2 separate regions of the Homo sapiens genome follow, and region 1 is linked to region 2. The links are contacts of gene promoters, found by promoter capture Hi-C in human tissues and cell types (Jung and others, 2019). All regions are on one chromosome and are shown on one strand. Each heading gives the region's core, a stretch centred on a gene start or on the middle of the fragment in contact. The rest is flanking DNA. Distances are from core to core; before and after follow the strand shown.

Region 1 (7,496 bases), core at 3,055-5,554, 160 kb after region 2:
GGATGCACATGCTTTTGTGGGGGAGGGGTGCTACTGGGGAGAAAAGGTCACTGATTTCCAAAATGTTAGAGGTTCTGATTTTTTCTTTTACAGAATAACATTTCATCTTGATATTATTTTAGTATTTACCACTCTGTATTGTCTTAGACCTCATCTTGGCAAAGGGCTCCTAAACAACTGCCACTTTTAGCATTGCTGCCAAAAGGCGCCCTTTCACAATAAAGCATGCTGTGCTTTGGCAGGAAATCAATAAAGTGAAAATCTGTTCTCATCATCCATACATTTACCATCACAATCAACAATCAAAGGCAAGACCTGGGTTCTTTATCCACAGGCTCCAGCCTCCCAATTTTCTGCTATGAAAGGCAGCATAAATTAGAACCCTTGGTTCCTGTTAGCTGGGCTTAATGGGTATGATTTATGAACCATTAAATGAGGTTATGTAAATTGATCCTTAGCAGAATGCTAGCGCCCAGGTGACAGGTGCAGCATGCTCGTCCACAAGGGTTCTGTACAAATCAGATTTCAGTGACATTCAGTTTGAGGAAAGAGAAATATGTTGTCAACAAGGAAGTGATTTAAATAGTGCCCTGGGTTTGTCAGCAATTATCCCTTTCTTCTTAATTGCTGCAAACTATATAAATTCTAATAGGAAATAAATTAGTAATTTACCAGTTAATGACAAGGGGTATAAAGGAGAAGGGCTTAAATATTTTAAAAGCCATATTACCAGTGAGGCCATACACTTGGGTGATTTCACTTATGCTGTTAAAGTTGAAGAGATGCTTTACAGCAGGAGTATAAACTTTGACACACGACAATAAAATTACATTCATTGCAACAGAAAAAAAAAAACTGGATCCACACAGAAAATGTCCTTGCAGAATTACTTCGTGTGTTCCATAGAAATAAAGATGTTTCTATTTTCCATCATCATTAGCATCCTAAGCTTAAAACAAATGGTCTTTTTAATCCAGGTGCAAATAACCTGCTTTGTCTTTTAAAAAGTTTTTGTAAACCTGGCCTCTGATCAGTCAAATAAAAAGCATGCAATTGTAAAACTATGATGAGAGTGAAGGTGGGTGATGTGGCTGATGTTGCAGAGCTTTTAGTTTGCCTGTCTTGCTTAAACAACAGATACCAATAACAACATACTTTCTGTTACACTCTTCACAGTGAAAGGAACAGGCTTGGTGTTTGATGAGCCCCTCACTTTGAGTGACCAAACTAAAGGCTCAGTTAAAAAAAATAAAGATCCCTGGGAGAGCATATACGAATTAATTTCACCAGCTTTAAATATGAAAAAAAAAAACCTCACATCCATTCCTCCTCTTTGACTCGCTGCCTCTAATCAAGAATGTCGTGGCCTTCTGAGAAAGGATTCTCCTGGGAAAGTCAGTTCGATATCATCCCCGGCTTTTGTCTGAAGCTATTATTGTGCCTGTTTCCATGAGGCTGACCCTGGTAAGAGGACACATATGGATGTGATAGTAATGTTCTCTGGTCCCTGGCCGAGCCTATTAGAGTTCCCAACAGGGGGTCCCACCACTCTTTTTAATAGTCATTTCTACTTCACAAGTGCAGTTGTTTATGGACAGGGGAGATAATTTGACCCACTGTGGTGCTGTACAAAAGAGTGACAATAGGGCAAAGGTCATATGTTTAAAGAAGTTTGAGACTGTGGCCTGCTAGGAGAGGCTCTCCCTAGAAAAGGACAATATTAAAATGTCATTTGTGAACTTAGAATAGGGCCTGGGAGGTCACAAGTGAAGACTTATATAACCATTGACATAAATACACTATTTTAGTGTTGGTAGATAAAAATAATTTGGAAGTAAAGAAGGGGTATGAAAAGTAGTTTCATAACTAGTATAGGAAAAAACACTTGGGGATCACACAGCATTAAAGGCCCACTGGCTACTTTAAATACTAGCACCACTATTTATTAAGTGTGTGGCGGTGGGCAAGATATTTTACCTCCTAAAATCTGGATAAAAGCCCTGTCTCACAGGATTCTGTTGTGAAGATTAAATAAGGGAATGCATGAAAGTACTGACATACAGTAAGTGCTCAATATATGATAGTTTGATGTATTGAAATATAGATGATAGATAAATGATAGAGATATATAAACTGTACCATCAGGTACTGCTTAATAACAGGAATATGTTCTAAAAAATGCATTGTTATGCGATTTCTTCATCATGTGAACATTGTAGAGTGCACTTACACAAACTTAGATGGTGTAGCTTACTACACACCGAGGCTCTATGGTGTAGCCTATTGCTGCTCAGCTATAAAACTGTAGAGCACGTTACTACACTGAATACTCTGGGCAATTATAACACAATGGTTAAGTATTTGTGTATCTAAACACGGAAAAAAGGAATGCATTGCACTACAATGTTACAACAGCTATGATATCACTAGGTGATAGGAATTTTTCAGCTCCATTATGAGACCACCATTGTATATGCATTCCATTGCTATGAAGCATATGACTGAATACATATTTGGAGAGAGACAGAGAAAGAGAGGTCGCCGTTTTCTCTGCTTTAGAATTGTGAACTCCCTGCTCTGTAGATACTTCTGTCCATGGAAAGATGCCTTTTAATGCCAAGTCTACACGTTCCTTTCACCCAAACCAACCATGCATCATCTCCATTTCCCCCCTACTTTGGCCCTCTCTTGCCTTCTATCTGCACCTTTGCAGAAATGGTATATGCTAATTGAGAGTATGATTCAGAGCCACATCAGGATTCCAACTTCCCTACTCGTTAGCTTTGTGACCTTGAGCAAGCAGTTTCACCAATCTGTGCCCCAGCGTTATTCCTTGTAAAATGGGGATTAAAGAATAGTACCTACTGCGTGGGGTTGTTCTGAAGATTAAATGAGCTAAACTATGTGAAATGCCAAGAGTAGAACCTGGTGCATAGTATTAAGTATTACGTATCATTATTATTGCTACTATTATGACAGCACCCCCACCTCTCTTGTCTCTATATTCAAATCCTCAGTTGCCTGCCTGAAAGAGGGTGTTAACGCATACTGAGCCCAAATCACACACCAGGCACTTTTTATACATTGCTAAGACCTAAAATGTGAATTTTATCCCCACTTGATAAACGAAGTGAAGGCTCAGTGAGATTAAATAATTTGTCCAAATTATAAAGATTCTGTTATGCAAGATGAATAAGTTCTAGAGATCTGTTACATAATATAGTACCTATAGTTAACAACACAATATTGTGCACTTTAAAATATGTTAAGAGGATAAATCTCATGTTAAGTGTTCTTACCAAACAAGCAAACAAAACCACACACACACACACACACACACACACACACAGAAGTTACACAAGGAAATTTTTCAAAGTGATGGACATGTTTAATACTTTGGTTGTGGTGATGGTATCACAGGTGTATGCATTTGTCCAAACTCATTAAGATGTATGCATTAAATGCATGCAGTTTTGGTATATCAACTGTACCTCAAAAAAGCTTTAAAAAAGAGAAAAATATATACTCTAAAATATAAATAAATAATTTGTCCCAGAATACAGGGCAAATAAGTGCAGAGCCAACATTCAAACCCAGGTTTGACTGATCCCCAAGCCCGTACTCTTTTCACTGCATTTGTGCTTCACAAGTCCAGGGCAAAATATCCACAGCTGTGGAAAAGAAAGGGACAGGGGTCCCTCTAGCAGAACCTCATTTTGATATGGTGAAAAGAGCAGTTGGCTCTGACTCTCACACATTTTGAATTTAGTTTAGTCATCTGTAAAAACTGAGGTGCTAGACTGAAGGCTTCCAAACCATGATCACCCAAGACTTTGGGCTTCTTCAAGGTTGCTCAGGGGCCACTGCAGAAGGAAGACCCAGCAGGAAGATCCCAGACCCTCAGTGAGATGCTCATCCCACCTGAATCGAGTAAGTACTGGGGCTCTGGATAAGATGTTTGACAATATCAAGATCCCTTTCATCTCTAATATTCTGAGGATCTTTTTCAAATTATAGGATGAAAACATGACCACAATCTATACTGAAATAACTTTCAATTTAACAAATATTTCTCTGGTTCTATTACATGCAAAACACCATGTTGACTTGAATAAAAAACCTTCCTTTTCTCCCAAAAATTGTCTTATAAGAATTTCTTCCTCCTCGCTGAGTGTACTCTCAAGATGCATTTCTCTCAGGAAGTGTGTTTTCAGTGTACTTAAAAGCCAGAATGTGAAATGTTCCCTTAAAGCTCTCAACCTTTGTACTGCAGACCCCCATTTCCCTGAAGAGTATTTTTATCCCTTCCATATCTCCATGTCTTATCTGTGTACTTTATCTTGTGACCACAGCTCTGTGTCCTAGAGAGTCTAACACATTGGCCATTTTTCAAGAAATAATATTAAGGTGAACAGCCACGGCTGGGTAGATGGCAGACTCTAAGCATTTCCAATATTTTCTCTGTTTGCAGTGTGGGCACCAGTCTTCGGGGCTCCCTCCCCAAATTAGTCCAAGAAGTTTATTCTAGGAGAAGGCATCACTTGCTAATTGAATTAACCTCCCTCTTTGTGTTTTGATTCAATGGAGATTACCTCAGGGAATTCAGCGGCTCCTCTGTAACTTGGTTCCTGGGACAAAGATTCTTCCCTCAGAGACTATTTCCTTCCCCGATTCTTATTTCTTGGAAGAGGGATCAGGAAGGAATGTGGATTCCAGAGAATATTGCAGGGCGGAGGATAGAATGCAAATGAAGGGTTGTCCTTCCAGTTATCCCACAGGACAGTGAGGGAGGGTTCATCTACTCTCAGGAAAACTCTGTAAGAAGGTCATGGTGTTTGGGAATCCTATGTTGCAATAGTACTCAGGTTTAAGAAAATCCTAGAGACTGATCTTAAAATGGTTGAAGAATGTAAAGATTCTGAGAACCCAATATTCCCAGAATATCTGTGAACAAACACTTCTGTTTATAAGAAAAAATGGGCAAGCTTGATTGGCTATCCCAGGTGTGTGTGTGTGTGTGTGTGTGTGCACTCAAGTGTATGCAATTTTGTGGGAGACCATTTCAGCTTCACCATCTAAGTCAGTGGCTCACAACTCCAGCAGTATGCAGATGACATACACATAGATATATTTAGGCTCCATCCTTGGAGATTCAGATTTTGGCAAGGGTCCAGCATCATTTATCTTTGAAAAGCTCCCCAGGAGATAAGGATGCCCTACCAGGGCTGAGAATCACTAGTCTAAGCAAAAACAGGCACTGGAGGCCCTCATCATTACATCTTTGGCTCCACTTGTGCTTTTTTGCCCTGCTGAGTGTCAATCAGCTGCATGCTACAGTGTGGTGACAAGACTACACATGGGTTGATTGCATATATGGAAGATAGTCGCTGCTTTCTTGGATCTGTAAATTTACTGCTTGGGGCTTATTTTTAAAATAGTGTTATTTTTTACCAAAATACGGCCAACTCTAGCAAAAGTAGAACCCTCTTAATTAATGCAATTGACCTTTTTGTGAGGTCATTTATCCCCTCTGGATAAACATCCTATTTCAGCAGGGATAGAGTACTAGCAGTCATGTTTAGCAAACTTCAGGCCCTATAAAAACATTTTATTTGGCATAATGGATGACCCTGAGCAGCCACAATCTCAATGTTGTTTTTTTTTTCTACCTTATTTCTTGAGGCAAGAGACCAATAGATTGCATCAATTTTTTTTAACTTGAAAAGTTGATGCCTACTATAATACACCAGAAAGCTTAATCCTTGGTTTGGTCCCAAATCAGCAAACACTTGCTTTAGTGTAAGATGGACAACTGTGCTCCTGGGCTACAAAGACACCCCCTGAGCTAGTGCCCTTTCTACCCTCATACACATATAGTCTCTTTCCTCTTCAACCCATTGGACACAGTTATTAGAATTGGCTTCTTTAGACCCCTTTGCATGATGTCACTTCTCTCTCAAGAACTTCCATAGGCTTCCTAGTGTCAATCATTTGAAATCTAAACTCATTTAGCCAGGCCAACCTTCTAACCTCCACAGTGACTGATACTTTTATTGTTTCTCAATGTAGACTTCTCCCCTACCCTAACCAGGCCAGCATTATGCAGGGTTCATACTGGGTGATAGCCACCTTGCCTAGAACTTGATGTCTTTCCCACTTCTGTCTTGAACTTGGCCAGCCAAGCTAGAAGTGTATTTCCAGAGCCCATTTTGCCACCATCCCAGAAACAGCTGCTCTGTGCCATGGCAGGATGAGCCTCCTCACTCCCCTCATTTGACCTTGGCAATGTCCATTTTGACCCCCAAGGAATCCCCTGCTCCCATAAGAATCACCCTCTAAAGCAGCACCCAAAATTCATGCCTTCAAGAAACCTTCCTTGATTGACTTCATTGTACTTTGCAGGTATGGACTAGACTGCCTGTACTGTTCTCATTAACTTTACATGACCATAGATTGTCATCTGTGCTCTATTCCACATCACTAGCTAGATTGTAAATTCTACAGCGCAAGCATTTTTTATTATGCTGTTTCTATATCCCTTTATAGTTAGATGAAAATAAACTGAAATAGCCGATGCTCTTGTGAGGGAAGTGTCCTGCAGCCAGAACTGGGATGAGGCCCCATCAGCTTTTGGATGCTCCTGGCTGTGAGAATGTAGGAGTCCTGTACCCTGAGGTGAGGTGAGTCCTGCTCTGAGGTGAGGCAGAGAGAGTCAGACAGGGCATACCAGCCAGTGGATCTGACAGTAAGAAAGCCTTCAGTAGCACAGCTCTAGCTGTTCCCCTACATGGACCTCACCTCCAAGTGGAGACTCCCATCCACTCCCTCCCTTCCCCTGCTTCCTTACAGCCTCCTGTAACTTGTGAAATATACTTCCCATACCTGGAGGGAGAAAGAAAAGGGGATTGCTTTTTGTTATACCCAGGGGCATACAATAAAGTGGGCCTCAGACTTTGTGTCCAAGCTCATTTGACTTGTCATATTTCTGAATCTGAAGCTAAAGGATTCAAGCTTCTCTGATTCAACAAGGGTTTTACAATAGCTTTTCACATATCAGACGTCCTGATAAGTCCCAACCCAAAACTTGTCTTGGTTGGCTTGGGTACCCTGTTCACACCAGTGAATTTTTAATCCTCAGTCATGTCTCATTCAGTCAGTCAGGTAAACTGAGAGGCTGTGGATTTTTAAGAAAAGCATCAGTAGCTTTCAGGTAGCAAAATATCTTTAATCTGAACAATTCTCAACCTTGGCATCCTTTTTCCACTCATCCCCTTTTTCTTTTTTTTAAATTATACTTTAAGTTCTAGGGTACATGTGCACAACTTGCAGGTTTGTTACATAGGTATACATGTGCCATGTTGGTTTGCTGCACCCATCATTAGGTATTTCTCCTAATGTTGTCCCTCCTCCAGTCCCCACCCCACAACAGGCCCTGGTGTGTAATGTTCCCCACCCTGTGTCCAAGTGTTCTGATCGTACAATTCCCACCCACGAGT
Region 2 (6,993 bases), core at 2,356-4,855:
TGTTGCCTCTCTTCAATACTGTATAGATTTGCAGGATTTTGTGAAACACTTAACCAAAATGGAAGGATTTAAAAACGGAATGCAAGATATAGACACAATCATTTTTTTCAAAATCAAGATGCTTTAGTTTTATTTCAGAATTTTCTAGTCTTAAAATCTTAAGCACGTGGTAGTGATAATCATCTCTGGATAATACTTCTGAAAGGATGATTATTGTGGACAGCTTAAATATACTCATATATTACAGGTGCCTAAACATTAAAAACTCTTACTGGAATTGAGATATACTACATCCAATTACAAGAAAACAACTACTTAGCTAATTAAATAATAATATTCACATGGTATGTTAAGTTGCAAAGAAGTTCAATTGTCCAGAACACCAAATAATATATGAAAATCTGGAAATAATGTCCAGTTAAATGCTTACTTGTGATTCTAAGAATCTCTTGGGAATTGGAGGCAATTCGTATATATCTCCAATGTGTAAAAAACTTAAGATTAGCTTGACTGTCTTTTCCTATTGACCCAATATCAAAATAATTTTCCCCTCCCATGTCTGTGAATTTATCTGATGTGAAAAGGCAATATAGAAAGTACCTTTCTCTAATTCTGGCTTTCCTGCATTTCTTCAGAAGGCACAGTTTATATTGAACAATTTCTTGGAGTCCCCCGGTTCTAGCTCTCAGAGATAATTCAGCTAAATCCGCGGAGCAGAGCTGAGAGGAAGGTTGGCCTATGGCAGAGGCACTTATGGCAGAGGAGGAGGGAATCCAAGATGAAGCAGGTAAGCTGCAGCCCTTTCTAGAACCAGGAGCTACAGGGTTTCCATGGGACATCTAAAATGCAGACCAAGGCCCAGGAACACTGTTTCCGAAGCCCGTGAACATGAAGCTAGAAGTAATATTTGGAGCGAATCCCAGAGCAAAGTCCTTCCCAGAGCACAAGTGCTAGATGGGGCCTGTATCTCTGCTTTGGAAGCCAAACACTAAGAGTAAAAGCAAATATTTGATGCTGAAGAGCTCTTAAGAGCTGAAGAGCGCCATTTACTTATTTCTACACGTCAGTGTGGGCTTAGGATGTTAAATAGATTAAAAGGCTAAGAGAGGTCAGTCACTCAAGGAAAGACTCTTCTTTTGCTTCTCCTGACTTGGTTCTCTTCCCTAAATTGTTATCCACCCCACCCTACTCCTGTGGAGGATCCTTGGGAAACTCAAAAGATGACACCTCCTCTCCTAGAACATCCTGGAGACGGAGTCAGTCCTGGGGCTAAGAATTCGAGAACCTGAGGGAGGAGGGAGTCTAAATATCCGGCTGGTAAATGCTACAATGAAGATAGGTTTAGAAAAATTCCTGAGATACAGAATCATAAAACTGGTAGGGTCCTTAGAAATTACCAAATCTATTCTCCTACTATCTTCTGTATCAGATTAATTTTAAAAAAAAAAAGGAAGGAAGGAAGCTTAGAGAAATGAGGTGGTTAGAGATAGGTAGGGGCAGAGCGAGGATGCGAACCGATTTCCAGGCCAGAGCTCCTTCTACCTTACACAATCTCATAGTTCAAGACCGAATTTGGGAATCAGTCTTAACACTTGCTTCCCCAGGACGGTCTTTGTCAGTGCCTCAGCTTCTCACTAGGGAGGTGGGCTGGCAGAGATTGCCAGGCCTCGGGCTCTGGCCAGAGATAAGTCCACGAGGCCTGGAGCCAGTCTGCGACCTGCCCACTCTCTAGACGCTGGGGGCTCGGGAGCTGAGGAGCGGTGCGCGGCGGGTTTCCAGACTCCGCTGTCCCCTGCCCACTCCAGGCTCCCGCCCCGGCCCCGTCTGCAGAGAGGACAGCCAAGTCATTTCAGTTTAATCTTATTTAAAAAGACATAACTAATAAATCTATTGCCAGGGCCGCGGAAAGACGGCCAGCAGAGTCGATCGTGCTCCCAATCCCATTGAACCCCATTGAAAACCATGACAACACCGGACAAGCTCCGATTTATCCCGGCGCGTTAAAGCGCATTGTGAGCAGACGTCAATCATGCATTATTCCGGACTGAACAAATGCAAAATCTTGACTGGAACAAATGCTTCCAACAGGTCCGGGGCGTCGAGCTCCATTTCCCCTTTGTCCGCGGCCTAGCAGTTGGCCTGTATTGGGGTTGCCTCCGCCCGACCACCCAGCGCGCGGTGCAGCTCCGGGCACCTCGGGCACGCTTGATAGGGAGGCTGCTGGGGAGGGTGCGCGGGGCTTGACAGGGCCGCCGCCGCCGCATCCGAGCCAGGTTCGAGTTCAGCCCGGGAGGAGCCAGGACTTCTGGTGCAGCCACCCAAGTACAGAGCCCTTCGCTACAATTTAGCAACTAAATATCCAAACTACTAGCTTCAGTAGGAGAGGCCTCTGAGAGGGCGTTCCTCTGTAGATTGAAGCGCGGCCAGAGCTAGGCCATGGCCCAACAAAATGTATCCACGGCGGCCTGTTCCCTGCGCCTCCTACATTGATCATTTTCTAGGGTGGAACTGTGGAAACTAGAAGATCCCAGAGAAACCCATGGCCGGTGGTATTTTCTGCCGGGTAGGCCCTGTCCTAATTCTCCCGATCGGTCCATTCCCGGACCAAGGCGGGCAGCCTCGTCAGGGTCTGCCATGCTGCGAGCGGGGAGCGTAGGCCATGGGCAGGCTCCTGGGCAAAGACCAAAGCCCAGGCAGTGAGAGTGCCGTTGAGGCTATGGGGCCAAGGCGCACAGGCGGCACCAGTTCATCTGGCGACTCCAAGGAGGCCTCAAAGCCCTCACAGGATGCCCTGAGAAGCGCCCCCGCCCAGGGGCTCTAAAGCGGGCCTGGACCCAAATTTGTGGAGCTCGGCCTCCGAGCTCCGAGATCGGCAGCGGCCGGGCGAAGCTGGGCCAAAGAGACAGGCACTGTAGACCTAAGTAGCTTGGCTACAAGCCTCTTCTGTTTTGCCGGCCTGTGGAGACGTGGAGCTGGGGCTCCGAATGTTGTCCCAGCCCTTCCTCAGCACCTCTGAGGCTGTTAGGGGGATGTATGGTGTGATCCGAGGCTCCCAGCGGCCGTTGAAACCCCTGGGCCAATGCTGGCAGGGCCAGGCTAATCTTTACGCCCTCCTGAAACTTGTCATCCTGAATCTTAGAGGGGCCCAACCAAAAAGAGAAAGGGAGCGCGCCAGAGTTTAACGCCGCTTTGTAAATCACTTTCTGGATAATTGCGGGAAACTACCACTCCAGCAAACAAGCTCGAAGAATAAAGCAAACAGGGAATAAATTCCTGGGTGCTAATAAACCCACCCCTGCCACCCCCACCCTTCCCGGCGCTCCCGCGGGGCCTGGCCTCAAGTCAGCCCAGGAGGAGGAGGAGGAAGCTGGGGCTGGGTCAGGCGGGTGGTGGCCACCGCTCGCCACCCAAGATGTTATTCACTGGTAACAATCCCCATTATCTGTCCCCACTTTGGGCTAATCAGACAGAATCGCTAATGCCAAATGCTGCTTCCTGCAGCCTCTGGGAGGTAACTGGGCGCCAAGGGGCGGGGTGCGGGGCGGGGTGCGGGGCGGGGCGGGGGCGGAGGTGGCACCTTCCGGGCTCGCCCCGGCTCTGGTCCAGTGCTCATTCAGGTACTTAACACCCTGGAGACCCGGACCTCGGCTTTCAAAGCGGCCTGGGTGGGAAGAGCTGTTTATATAAACAGAGATTCCGCTGTAAATGCGCTAATATCCCGGCTGCCAGCGCATGGCGAGCGCCTCCCACGCCCATCCGTAGGAGCGGCGTCCCGGCCGCCCCTCCGTTCCCAGCCTGCCCTGCCCCCGCCTCCTTCCCCTCCTCGGCCATGGCCACCTCTGGACGCCTGAGCTTCACCGTGCGCAGCCTTCTAGATTTACCCGAGCAGGACGCGCAACACCTGCCGAGGCGGGAGCCAGAACCACGCGCCCCCCAGCCCGACCCCTGCGCCGCCTGGCTGGATTCGGAGCGCGGCCACTACCCTTGTAAGTGCGTGGTGGATTGCGGTGCGGGGTGGGAGGTAGGAGGCGTGGGGCAGCAGAATCAAGGGCCCAGCCCACGAGGGGCCGGAAAGCCGAAATCCCAGCCCAGAGTCTAGATTTCCTCAGTCTTGGAAACGGGAGCCCTGTCCTCGAACCCCTAACGCATTCATCCCGGTCGGCACATCCTAAGAGCAGATCCCTGCCTGGCACTGGTGCTCCGAGATTTGGGGTTTCTGTGTCTGACGATTTCTAGAGGTCGGAATAATTGAAATTTAAAACGCGCCGCCACCTGCCGCCCCCACCCCACCCCCCGCCCCCTCTCCATGCCTGAAAACACGGCCACGATCTCCAGGCCTCCGTCTGGGATGGCCAGTGTTGGCGAGTTTACCCCCACCCCGTTCCCACTCAGGGCTCCGCAAACCTCGGCACACTGCAGTGCAGTCGACCTGGAGGAGGCCGGCGCTGGTGACCCAGCTTGTGATAAACTGGTCGGCCAGCGCAACTACCGGTGCGGACATGTTAAGAGGGCCCCGGGGTGGGTTTTTTCGGGGCACGATCTCAGGCCCGCTGATGACCGCTGTGGTATGAATGAGGTCACCGCATTCGGAGAGGTGGATGTCCAGATGTGGACTCAGGAAATGGCCTCATCCCGAAAGTCTCGGGCTAGTGGGCGTGCCCTCTGGCCAGTGCCTCCACGCCCGCGCCAGAAGGGCAGCAGGCCCTCGTAGGGTCCGGCGTCTCACCCACCCGTGTCTCCTTTGCTGTCCCTAGCCTCGGACGAGAGCAGCCTGGAGACCAGCCCGCCAGACTCGTCGCAGCGGCCGTCCGCTAGGCCCGCGTCTCCGGGCTCGGACGCCGAGAAAAGGAAGAAGCGGCGGGTGCTATTCTCCAAGGCGCAGACGCTGGAGTTGGAGCGGCGCTTCCGGCAGCAGCGGTACCTGTCTGCGCCCGAGCGCGAGCAGCTGGCGAGCCTGCTTCGCCTCACGCCCACGCAGGTCAAGATCTGGTTCCAGAATCATCGCTACAAGCTGAAGCGCGCTCGCGCTCCAGGGGCGGCGGAGTCGCCTGACCTGGCAGCATCCGCCGAGCTGCACGCCGCGCCCGGCCTGCTGCGTCGCGTGGTGGTGCCGGTGCTTGTTCGCGACGGGCAGCCGTGCGGCGGCGGCGGCGGTGGCGAGGTGGGAACCGCCGCGGCCCAGGAGAAGTGCGGCGCCCCTCCAGCCGCCGCCTGCCCTCTGCCGGGCTACCCTGCCTTCGGTCCCGGCTCGGCGCTTGGCCTCTTCCCCGCCTACCAGCACTTAGCATCCCCCGCCCTGGTCTCCTGGAACTGGTGAGGCCGCAGGGCGGCACCTGGGGCTACCCTCGACTTTGGAGCGCGCTCTGCGATTGGAGCAGGGCCGGAGCCGAACGCCTGGAACGCTCTCCGTCCGCCTCCCTGCAGCCCCATCTCCTTGGGCGCCAGGGTCCCTGGCGCGCCCTCATCAGCCGTCGCGCAAGCACACACGAGGGACGTGTGCCAGAGCCCCCTCCCTCACCTTCCCTCCACCGCCAGCCCCAGAGTTAGATTTTATGCTTGGGCCTTATTTGTATATTTTTAAATAGCGATTTGTATAGGAAGCAAGTTATTTTTTTAAAAAATAGAGTATTTTTCCTCGTAGTTCGAGAATAAAATGTGTGGGGTTGGGTCCCCTGCGCGCCTGCGGGGAACGTAGGCGGGAGTCGTGCCCCCCAGACCGGTGTTCGCATCGCTGGCTCGCCCCTTGACTGGCTAAGTGGGGCCCGGCCCCAGCTGGATCGAAGGGCGGGTTGCAGTCCCGACACGGCTTTAGGAAGATACCTGGGGGATGGAGGGGTGGTGATGTCAGGGTTGGGCGCGGGAAGAAAAGGAGAGGAGGAAGCTGAGGCAACTTTGGGATTCTTGTCAGCGGGAGGCGTCACTGGCCCCAGAGTGACTCCGACTCTCCGCTGGGCTCCCAGAGCTGCTGGCGTTTCGAATACCGAAAAGTCAACCCTGTGGACCACGACAGGGCAGAAGGAGTTTCTCCGGAGATGAGCCGGCGAGGCCAGGTGCGGGGCGCGCTGCACCGGAGCAGCCCAGGCCGGGCCGCAAGCTGTTTCCAGAGTGCAGGAGCCAAGTGCTCGGGGACCCTTTGAAAAGTGCCTGGGGACCTGAAGAGCACCGGGGAATTTGTAACCCCTATTTAAGCCTGCAAGTGCCTAAGTTAGCTGTGATTTCCTGTCTCCTCATGGCGCAGTACCTGGCCAGGGTGGGGAGGAGGACGTGAAGACATCAAAGGGTCGGGGGAACGACCGGCACAGGGCTTTTCCTCTGGGCAGATCCGGGAGGACGCGACTCCCAGCTGAGGGAGGGCCGCCTGGGGGAGCCTTGGGAATCCGAGATTGGGGCAGGTCCACCCCGGCCAGTGCACACTAGCACCCCTTGGATTTGTAACTGCCCCGCTAGGGCCTCTTGTGCAAGCAGTCACTTTCTCACAGAAGCGACGACCTCGCTCCCAGGCACCCGCTGCTGGGAGATGCGCCAGAGGAGAGCAGTTGGGGCATCAGGTGCGGGGAAGGGAGCCAAGGGCCCTTATGGAGGTCTCTAAGGAGGAGTCATGGGCCTGTTAGGGGCTCTAGCTTTCTTGTCCAAGGAGGAAGAAGGGGAGGATGAAGGGTGGCTGAGGCAGTGTTATCACCTGGGATTTTGGGGGGTGGAGAGAGAAAGAGAGAAGGGGAGAGGGGGAAGGGAGTGGGGTGTTTGGGTCTCAGCTGCCGGCCACCTTGCCTTCCATATGGATGCGGTTATCTTAGAAGAATCTCGATCCTTAAACCTCTTTTTGTCTTGGGAACTGAAAAGGGCATTGTCAGGCCTGAAAAGGACCTAGACAAAATCCGCACTGTTTGGATTCAGGACTCTGTTTAATCAGTCCCTGGTGACAATGTAGTGGGTGTTAGGCAGGACAATAGTATCTTTTTAAACCTTGTGGCCTTCAGGAAGACAAAGGGCTTG

What was found. Contacts are between HindIII fragments. The study calls those that stand out against the background at their distance.
Region 1: a contact is called between a fragment that was not itself captured here and the fragment with the promoter of NKX2-8 in region 2, in 2 of the 25 tissues and cell types used here (mesendoderm cells and thymus).

What each region holds. Positions count from the first base shown.
Region 1 is chr14:36,417,620-36,425,115 of GRCh38, reverse strand. No RefSeq gene overlaps it. Among named protein-coding and RNA genes, the nearest start is that of NKX2-1-AS1, 98 kb to the left of the region's middle. The HindIII fragment of the contact is 4,158 bases long and covers 2,226-6,383 here.
Region 2 is chr14:36,579,226-36,586,218 of GRCh38, reverse strand. It overlaps NKX2-8 (NK2 homeobox 8), which reads left to right and starts at 3,605. Exons shown (of 2, transcript NM_014360.4): 1 at 3,605-3,986; 2 at 4,755-6,215. The coding sequence starts at 3,830. The coding sequence ends at 5,317. RefSeq lists enhancers at 4,214-5,024, 5,025-5,835. The HindIII fragment of the contact is 13,278 bases long and covers 590-6,993 here.